Regions from separate parts of the Homo sapiens genome. Here region 1 is linked to region 2. The links are contacts of gene promoters, found by promoter capture Hi-C in human tissues and cell types (Jung and others, 2019). All regions are on one chromosome and are shown on one strand. Each heading gives the region's core, a stretch centred on a gene start or on the middle of the fragment in contact. The rest is flanking DNA. Distances are from core to core; before and after follow the strand shown. Region 1 holds the start of ANGPTL4 (angiopoietin like 4). Region 2 overlaps KANK3 (KN motif and ankyrin repeat domains 3).

What was found. Contacts are between HindIII fragments. The study calls those that stand out against the background at their distance.
Region 1: the fragment with the promoter of ANGPTL4 here is called in contact with a fragment that was not itself captured in region 2 in 4 of the 25 tissues and cell types used here (bladder, liver, pancreas and 1 more).

What each region holds. Positions count from the first base shown.
Region 1 is chr19:8,362,871-8,367,746 of GRCh38, reverse strand. It overlaps ANGPTL4 (angiopoietin like 4), which reads right to left and starts at 3,592. Exons shown (of 7, transcript NM_139314.3): 1 at 3,108-3,592; 2 at 1,683-1,793; 3 at 1,428-1,545. The coding sequence starts at 3,425. RefSeq lists an enhancer at 3,926-3,975. The HindIII fragment of the contact is 14,542 bases long and covers 1-4,876 here.
Region 2 is chr19:8,324,306-8,328,752 of GRCh38, reverse strand. KANK3 (KN motif and ankyrin repeat domains 3) reads left to right here. Exons shown (of 11, transcript NM_198471.3): 8 at 3,657-3,802; 9 at 3,923-4,123; 10 at 4,206-4,304. Among named protein-coding and RNA genes, the nearest start is that of RPS28, 5.0 kb to the right of the region's middle. The HindIII fragment of the contact is 8,731 bases long and covers 1-4,447 here.

The DNA.
Region 1 (4,876 bases), core at 2,343-4,842, 37 kb before region 2:
GCTCTGCCTGGGGTCCCAGCTCCTAGAGGGAGAGGAGGCAGGGTTGAGGAAAGAAAGAGGGAGGGAGGAGGGGAGGATGGCGTTGAGCACGTCTGGAGGCTCAGACGCTCCAGACTGGGAGGAACCGCCCCCAGCCCAGCCGGAAAAGTAGGGGAAAGGTCGAAATGAGTCTGCACGGTGGGGGTGGGGGCGGGCCCAGAGTGACCAGGAAGACGCTTTCCGGCCCCTCAGGCATCTCCCCTTTCCCCTACTTTCCTCCCATCCAGTAAGGATGGGCACGCGGCCAAACCACCAGTGTGGCTTCCATGAATGCCAGCTGTTCGCCTTCCCAGCTCTGAACTTTCTCCTACTTGGCGGGCCTGAGCCAAGAGTCTGGGAGTCCCGAACCCACAGAACCCCTGCCCCCTTCCACCGCATTTCCCAGCCAGGACTTGTGCCTTCCCCCGTCACCCTCCAGAAGCCCCTCATCCTGGGATGGTGGCTTTGGGAGGGTGGACAGGACCCTGACCACGCTGAGATGCTAGCCTGGCGGGGTTGGGGGCGGGCAGCACGGAGGTGGGAAGGAGCGGGAGCTTGGGGAGGAGAGAACCCTCAGGTCTACAGTGCTGGAAGCCTGCCACTGACCCTAGGGTGTGAGAGGGGGATCCAAACTTTCACCCAGTTGGCTGTGGACAGCCACAGATGCAGGGAAGGATGAGGACCACAGAGAAACCGTGTGGGGCCGTGAACTTAGAGAACCGCGAGTCTGCATCGGACACACGTGGACATGCTGTGGTTCGAGATGAACGGAGATTTGGGAATAAAGCACCTACAACTTGTGGTGGCAGCAAAAGCCCACTTTCTGCGGTGGGGAGGGGGCCGGCGGGGGCGGGGAGGGAGGAGGAGAACAAGAGAGGAAGGAGGAAGAGGGGTCAGGGACCTGGAGCATTGGATTTGTAAGATACAAGAGTGTTTCTGGTCTGGGAGCTGGGGGTTCCCAGCCCTAATTCCCACATACCCCAAGACATTGTGGAGGGCCCAAATCTACAAACACTACTACCTGGCACCCCCTCCTCCATGACACCCTCCCCTAGAAGGTTCTAACCTTCAGGATGGCACCCCGAACCCCATTTCTACCTTCTCCAGCACCCCTGCAGCTCAAGTCCCTCAAGACCTCTTTCTCCACCTCTGTTCCAATCAGTGATCAGCAGGGCTTCAGGGACAGCCCACTGGCTTGCAGAGGAGAAGGGTTGGGTGGCCTGGCTGGGCCAGGTCAGGGCTGAGGAAGGAGGTGCTCCCATCAGCTTTGACCCAGAGACTGGTGAGCCCTCAGGGACTCCAGGCCAGGACATCTTCTCCTTAAGGTGGACCTGACAAGGAGAGGACCAGCAATGGCAAGTGGCGGGGTAGGGGTGGCCACCGGAGAGCATCGAGGGGCAGACACTCACGGTGCAGGCGGCTGACATTGTGAGCCGGGTCAACTGGCTGGGCCATCTCGGGCAGCCTCTTTCTTCGGGCAGGCTTGGCCACCTCATGGTCTAGGTGCTTGTGGTCCAGGAGGCCAAACTAGGATGGGACGGGAGGAGGGTGTCAGGTCCTGCCTGGCCCCACGTCCCCAGCCACACGTCCAGTTCTCACCACCTCCCTCTCAACCTGGGGTCCAGCTATCAGAGGGACCTTTTCTCCCTTGATCCTAGGGTTACCTGGCTTTGCAGATGCTGAATTCGCAGGTGCTGCTTCTCCAGGTGCCGCTGCTGCTGGGCCACCTTGTGGAAGAGTTGCTGGATCCTGCTGTTCTGAGCCTTGAGTTGTGTCTGGGGAGGGGTGAAAACCTTGGTGAGGACCCAGCTTGCCTACCCCAACCTCTTAATTCATCCACTCATCCATCCTTCCAAATCTCCATCCGCTGAGGCCAGGCAAGGGAGTCTTTCTTTTTTCTTTTTTTTCCCAATGACGGGGTCTCGTTCTCTCGCCCAGGCTGGAGTGCAGTGGTGCTGTCACAGCTCACTGCAGCCTCCAACTCCTGGGGTCAGGCGATCCTCCTGTTTTCAGCCTCCTGTGTAGCTGGGACTACAGTCATGCAGCTCTATGCCTGGCTTATTTTTTATTTTTTCAGACAGAGTCTCGCTCTGTCACCCAGGTTGGAGTGCAGTGGCGCAATCTTGGCTCACTGCAACCTCTGCCTCCCAGACTCAAGTGATTCTTGTGTCTCAGCCTCCCAAGTAGCTGCCACCACACCTGGCTAATTTTTGTATTTGTATTTTATTTTATTTATTATTATTATTATTTTGAGATGGAGTCGAGCTCTGTCGCCCAGGCTGGAGTGCAATGGCATGATCCCGGCTCACTGCAACCTCCGCCTCCCGGGTTCAAGAGGTTCTCCTGCCTCAGCCTCCCCAGTAGCTGGGATTACAGGCGCCCACCACCACACCCAGCTAATTTTTGTATTTTTAGTAGAGACGGGGTTTCACTGTGTTGGTCAGGCTGGTCTTGAACTCCTGACCTCAGGTGATCCACTGGCCTCGCCCTCCCAAAGTGCTGGGACTACAAGCGTGAGTCACCGCACCTGGCTTTATTTTTATTTTATCGCTATTATTTTTTTGAGGAGTCTCACTCTGTTGCCCAGGCTGGAGTGCAGTGCTGCGATCTCGGCTCACTGCAACCTCTGCCTCCCGGGTTCAAGAGATTCTCCTGCCTCAGCCTCCCAAGTAGCTGGGATTACAGGCATGCACACCATGCCAGGCTAATTTTTTGTATTTTTAGTAGAGACGAGGTTTCTCCATGTTGGCCAGGCTAGTCTCGACAGCAGGTGGAGGCTCCGTGAGCCACTGCGCCCGGTCGTTTTTTAATTTTATATTTATTTTATTTTATTTTATTTATTTTGTGTGTGTGTGTGTGTGTGTGTAGAAGAGACGGGGGTCTCGCTATTTTGCTTTAGGTGGTCTTGAATTCCTGGCCTTGAGCGAACCTCCCTCCTCGGCTTCCTAAGGGGGGAGCCCATCCCTTGACGCAGGGAAGCCCAGGGAGCCACAGTTGCGCACCCCGCCCCCACGCCCCACTCCTGTCCATACCCTTCCAAGCCAGGAGAGCCACTAGGGGCGCGGAGAACCAGCCCTGGGGACACGTACCTGCAGGCTGTGAAGGACCTCAGGGTCCACCCGGCTCTCAGGGGCTAACGGGAGGTCGGTGGACCCCTCGGTTCCCTGACAGGCGGACCCGCACGCGCTCAGGCGCCGCTCCAGCGCGCTCAGCTGACTGCGGGTGCGCTCCGCGTGTTCGCGCAGCCCCTGGCCGAGCTGCAGGAGTCCGTGCGCCAGGACATTCATCTCGTCCCAGGACGCAAAGCGCGGCGACTTGGACTGCACGGGTCCGCCCTGAGCGCTCAGTAGCACGGCGGTGGCGGCGCAGAGCATCAGGGCTGCCCCGGCCGTCGGAGCACCGCTCATCCTCTTAGGTAGCCTGGGAGCGGGGATTCGGGGACTCTCGGGGACGTTGGGGTTCCAGGTGCGAGGACTGGAGACGCGGAGGACCGGGGGTAAGACCCGCTTGGTTGCAGAAGCCGCTGGAAAGAATCGGATCACAGTCGTGTGAGGATCCGCTCAGCTCGGCTTCTCCCCGCCGCGCCCGAGGACGGTTTTTATAAGTTGGGTGCGGAGTGGGCGGAGGAGTCTTGGAGGCGGGGTGCGGGGAGTGCTGGGGGCAGGGCCTGTGGCCGGGGGTGGGGTCCTGTCCTCTGGAGGCCTGGTAGTCTGCGGGCTGGGGGATGCCCTGGGGATGCCAAACTGTGGCTCTCCCGCCCCCGCTCCAGGCTCAGGCAGGCCTTCCTCTACGAACCGTGGGAGACGTGACTCTTCTTTCCCCCACGGTGCCCGCCTCTAGTGTGAAATTGCAAGCCCCCTATTCCGCCCCCGCCTTACCCAGTGGCGGAGAGGGCGCACGCTTGAGGTCAAGACTTCCAGACCAGCCCGGCCAACATCGTGAAACCCAGTCTCTACTAAAAATACAAAAAAAAATTAGCCGGGCTTGGTAGTGCGCGCCTGTAGTCCCAGCTACTCGGGAGGCTGAGGCAGTAGAATCGCTTGAACCCGGGAGGTGGAGGTTGCAGTGCGCCGAGATGGCGCCATTGCGCTCCAGCCTGGGCGACAGAGCCAGAGTACGTCTCAAAATGAAAGAAGAGAAAAGAAAAGAAAAGAAAGAAAAGAGAGAGAAAGAAGGAAAGAAGGAAGGAAGGACGGAAAAAGAAAAGAGAGAGAGGTAGGGAGGGAGGGAAGAAGGAGAGAGAGAGAGAAAAGAGAGAGAGAAAGGAAAGAGAGAAAGAGGAAGGAAGGAAGGAGGGAAAGAAAGGAAGAAGGAAAGAAAGGAAGGAAAAGAAAAAGAGCTGAGTTCAGCGGAGCCCGGAACTCACCAAAAGTCCTTGCCTTGCGGAGGCTTCGTGTGACCTCCATCCCAAGACCAGGAGAGACTTTTCTGGGCTCGCATGTTCCTTCCCGTGAAAGGGTTCGTCATCGCAGCTGTGTTTATGAGATTCTTTGACTTCCATTTCTCCCCTGAGCCCGAAATTATGAGTGCCTTAGCGGCAGGACTTGGATCAGGGCCTCACCCCCATAGCCTACCCTCTACCGCCAGGGTCTTTAATGTCCTGAGCTTTGCCTATAATAAAGCAGGAACTTAGAGAACAGAAAGAGGAGACACAAGGAAGGGAGGAACCAGGGCGGTCGCCCATGACTGTGGTCGCAGCTACTTGGGAGCCTGAGGTGGGAGGCTCACTTGAGCCCAGGAGGTAGAGGCTGCAGTGAGCCACAATGGTGCCACTGCACTCCAGCCTGGGCAACAGAGTGAGATCCTGTCTCTAAAAAAGAAATAAAATAAAAGTCTGTGGCCAGGCGCGGTGGCTCAC
Region 2 (4,447 bases), core at 258-2,757:
TGCCCGTTACAGAATCTCACTTCTCAGCTCCCCACTTCCCGACCCTCACCTCCCAGCTTCTCGGCTCACAGGCTCCCATTCCCCAACTCCAGTAATCCTTGGACCTTGCGGGGACAATTACCCACTGCTCCCTCTCCGTTTCACTGCCCCCACCCCTTGTCTCTTTGCCTCTGTCATCCTCCTTCAGCCTGTTGTGGATTCTTCTCCATACCCCTCTCTCACCCGACCCTACCTGCCTGCCTGACAAACCCACAGCAAACCGTCAAGTGTTGAATAAATGCCTGCTCCCACAGAACTTTCAGGAATGTGTAGTTTTGAGTGTGTGTGTGTGTGTGTGTGTGTGTGTGTGTGTGTGTGTGTGTGTGGTGGGGGTGGTGAGTGAAGAGTGGAGAGAGACGATTATCAAGTAAAAACGTGAAATAATTTCAAATGCTAGTAAGGGCCGTAGCAGAAGACAACCAGGGGATGAAGTCAACAAAGGGTGATTCTTTTTAAATTTTTTTGTAGGCATGGGGTTTCACCATGTTGCTCAGGCTGATCTCCAACTCCTGGGCCTAATTGATCCTCCCTCCTCAGTCTCCCAAGTAGCGGGGATTACAGGCGTTCTCCACCACACCCGGCTAATTTTTGTATTTTTAGTAGAGATGAGGTCTCGCTCTGTTGTCCAGGCTGTTCTCGAACTCCAGAGCTCAAGTGATCCTCCTGCCTTGGCCTCCAGTGTTCTGGAATTATAGGCGTAAGCCACTGTGCCTAGCCAGGGTGATTCTTTAGTTAAGCAAGGTCAAGGTAGCTGCAAGAGAAAAGGGAGAGGGAGCAGGAAGATAGGTGGGTCCTTGGCTAGCCTGCAAGGACCCCACTCTGGTTATTTCTGGGTGCTCCTCCCTGACCACCTGACGCCTTACACGGTGTCTTAGTGGAAGGCATGGACACCCACACAGCATGCCACCCAAACAGGGAACGTCCCCCCAACCCCTTTTTACAGACAGCTTTGTTCCAGGCTGGGGTGTAGTGGCGTGATGCAGCCTCAACCTCCCAGGCTCAAGCGATCCTTCCACCTCAGCCTCCTGAGTATTTGGGACCACAGGCATGAACCACCACACTCAGCTAATTTTTTTTTTGGCGGGGAGCAGAGTGTCGCTCTGTCACCAGGCTGGAGTGCAGTGGTGTGATATTGGCTCACTGCAACCTCTGTCTCCCATGTTCAAGTGATTCTCCTGCCTCAGCCTCTCAAGTAGCTGGGACTACAGGCGCACACCACCACGCCTGGCTAATTTTTTGTATTTTTGGTAGAGACGGTGTTTCACCATGTTGGCCAGGATGGTCTTGATCTCTTGACCTTGTGATCTGCCTGCCTTGGCCTCCCAAAGTGCTGGGATTACAGACGTGAGCCACCGTGTCCGGCCAAATTTTTTAAGAGATGGGGGGGTCTTCCTATGTTGCTCAGGCTGGCCTCAGACTCCTGGCCTCAAGTGATCCTCCTGCCTTGGCCTCCCTAAGCATTTGGGTGTACAGGCGTTAGTCACCATGCCTGGCCTCCATTTTTGCTGTCATTTGACTTAACCCTTTACTCCTCAGTCCCTCATCTCAGCTCTCCTTCCTCACTAGGTTATCCATCTCATGACCCCGACCCCGCTCCTTTCCCCAAGCTTCTCATTCATTTCCTTAAACTACCTCAATCCTCAGAGCCTTCAGAATGGCAGGAGACAGGGATTAAAACAGCCACTCCAGGAAATATCATCCAAACAGGCACTGTGAGGAACAGGGACCAGGATGGTAACAGAACTGATCCCAGAGGAAACTGAGCTCACGTTTGTGTTTCATTCAGGATAGGCAGTGTTGACCAGGCTGTTTTGCTTCCTAGGGCTGCCATCAAAGTATCACTGTGAGCTGCTTCAAACAACAGGTGGCCAGACTTCTGAAATCAAGGTGTTGGCAGGTTTTTTTTTTTTTTTCTGAGAGATGGAGTCTAGCTGTGTCACCCAGGCTGGAGTGCAGTGGCGCAATCTCGGCTCACTGCAAGCTCCGTCCCCCGGGTTCATGCCATTCTTCTGCCTCAGCCTCCTGAGTAGCTGGGACTACAGGCACCCACCACCACACCCGACTAATTTTTTTTTTTTTTTTGTATTTTTAGTAGAGACGGGGTTTCACTGAGTTAGCCAGGATGATCTCAATCTCCTGACCTCATGATCCGCCCGCCTCAGCCTCCCAAAGTGCTGGGATTAAAGGCGTGAGCCACTGCACCTGGCTTTTTTTTTTTTTTTTTTTTTTTTTACAACAGGTGGCCAGAAGTCTGAAATCAAGGTGTTGGCAGGTGTTTTTGTTTGTTTGTTTGAGACAGGGTCTCACTGTGTTACCCAGGCTGGAGTGCAGTGGCGTGATCTTGGCTCACTGCAGCTCCCAGGTTCAAGTGATTATCCTGCCTCAGCCTCCTGAGTAGCTGAGATTACAGGTGCCTGCCACCACGCCTGGCTATTTTTTGTGTTTTTAGTAGAGATGGGGTTCACCACATTGGCCAGGCTGGTCTCGAACTCCTGACCTCAAGTGATCAACCACCTCGGCCTCTCAAAGTGCTGGGATTACAGACGTGAGCCAGTGTCCTGGCAACCAAATTCATTTTGAATTGTTGCTCTTGGCCAGGCGCGGTGGCTCACACCTGTAATCCCAGCACTTTGGGAAGCTGAGGCAAGCGAATCATGAGGTCGGAGTTCGAGACCAGCCTGACCAACATGGTGAAACCGTCTCTACTAAAAATACAAAAATTAGCTGGGCGTGGTGGTGCATGCCTGTAATCCCAGCTACTCAAGTGGCCAAGGCAGAAGAATCGCTTAAACCTGGGAGGCAGAGGTTGCAGTGAGCTGAGATCGTGCCACTGCACTCCAGCCTGGGCGACAGAATGAGACTCCATCTCTAAATAAATAAATAGTTGCTCCTGGCTGCTGTGTGGAACCTGGAGTGGATTCAGAGAGAAGGGTGGAGGCTGGCACTGTTCTTTAGGGGAGCAATGATGGTGGCTTGGCGGGTGGTGGCCATGAAAATAAACATATCCTTTTATTATTCAGTCAACAAATGTTTAACTGAGCATCTACTATGTGCCAAGTATTGTTCTAAGTACTGAGGGATACAGAAGCAAACAAAACCAAGTCCCTGCCTGATTTGAAACAGGGACTTGATTTGAAATAGCCACTGGGCCAGTGGCTCATGCCTCTAATTCCAGCACTTTGGGAGGCTACGGTGGGTGGATCACTTGAGGTCAGGAGTTCGAGACTAGCCTGGCCAACATGGTGAAACCCTGTCTCTACTAAATAATACAAAAATTAGCTGGGTGTGATGGCACATGCTGTAGTTCCAGCTACTCCGGAGGTGGAGATTGCAGTGAGCTGAGATCGCACCACTGCACTCCAGCCTGGGTGACAGAGCGAGACTATGTCTCAAAAAAAAAAAAAAAAAAAAAAAAAAGATGAAACAGGAAGGTCCTTCACTGAGCAGATGGTATTTGAGCAACACCTTAGTGAGGGAGGAACCAGGTAGCTATTGTGGGGAGAACGTTGAGACCACCCCATATGCAGGTGCTGTGCCCGAGGCTTGCAGGGAGGTGAGTGGATCAAGTCGGGCCGCGGTGTTGGCATCTCCGTGGACGGCCCCCTTTTCTCTCCCAGGGGCCTGCGAGGTCAACCGCCAGAACCGAGCCGGCTACTCGGCCCTCATGCTGGCTGCACTCACCTCTGTGAGGCAGGAAGAGGAGGACATGGCTGTGGTCCAGAGACTCTTCTGCATGGGTGATGTCAATGCCAAGGCCAGTCAGGTGCGTGGGCGCCCCCACTGTGGCTCTCAGCCAGGAGTCACTTCCACTTTGGGAGTCAACCTGTGACCTCCCTTCCCTGAGCCTACCCCAGCCTGTTCCCTCTTCCTCCCCACTCCCCAGACGGGGCAGACAGCCCTCATGCTGGCCATCAGCCATGGCCGACAGGACATGGTGGCAACCCTACTGGCGTGTGGGGCTGATGTGAATGCGCAGGATGCGGATGGGGCCACAGCGCTGATGTGTGCCAGTGAGTATGGGCGCCTGGACACCGTGCGGCTGCTGCTCACCCAGCCAGGCTGTGACCCTGCCATCCTGGACAATGTAAGACCCCACAATGGGGCTGGCATCTTGGGGGGTGCCCATGGCTTGGCTCAGGGATCTGACTGTCCCTAACGTTCCACAGGAGGGCACCAGTGCCCTGGCCATCGCCCTGGAGGCTGAGCAGGATGAGGTGGCCGCTCTGCTACATGCCCACCTGAGCTCGGGCCAGCCCGACACCCAGGTGAGCACAGCTCTGGAAGAAACAAACTTTCCCAGCTGCAAATTCAGTTTGCAGAGGATAGTAAATATGCCCTGAGCCTCCCTTTCTGCTCCCCAAAGGTGGCACCAGGGGTGCAGAACCAGTGTCTGGATTCTCCTATGTGG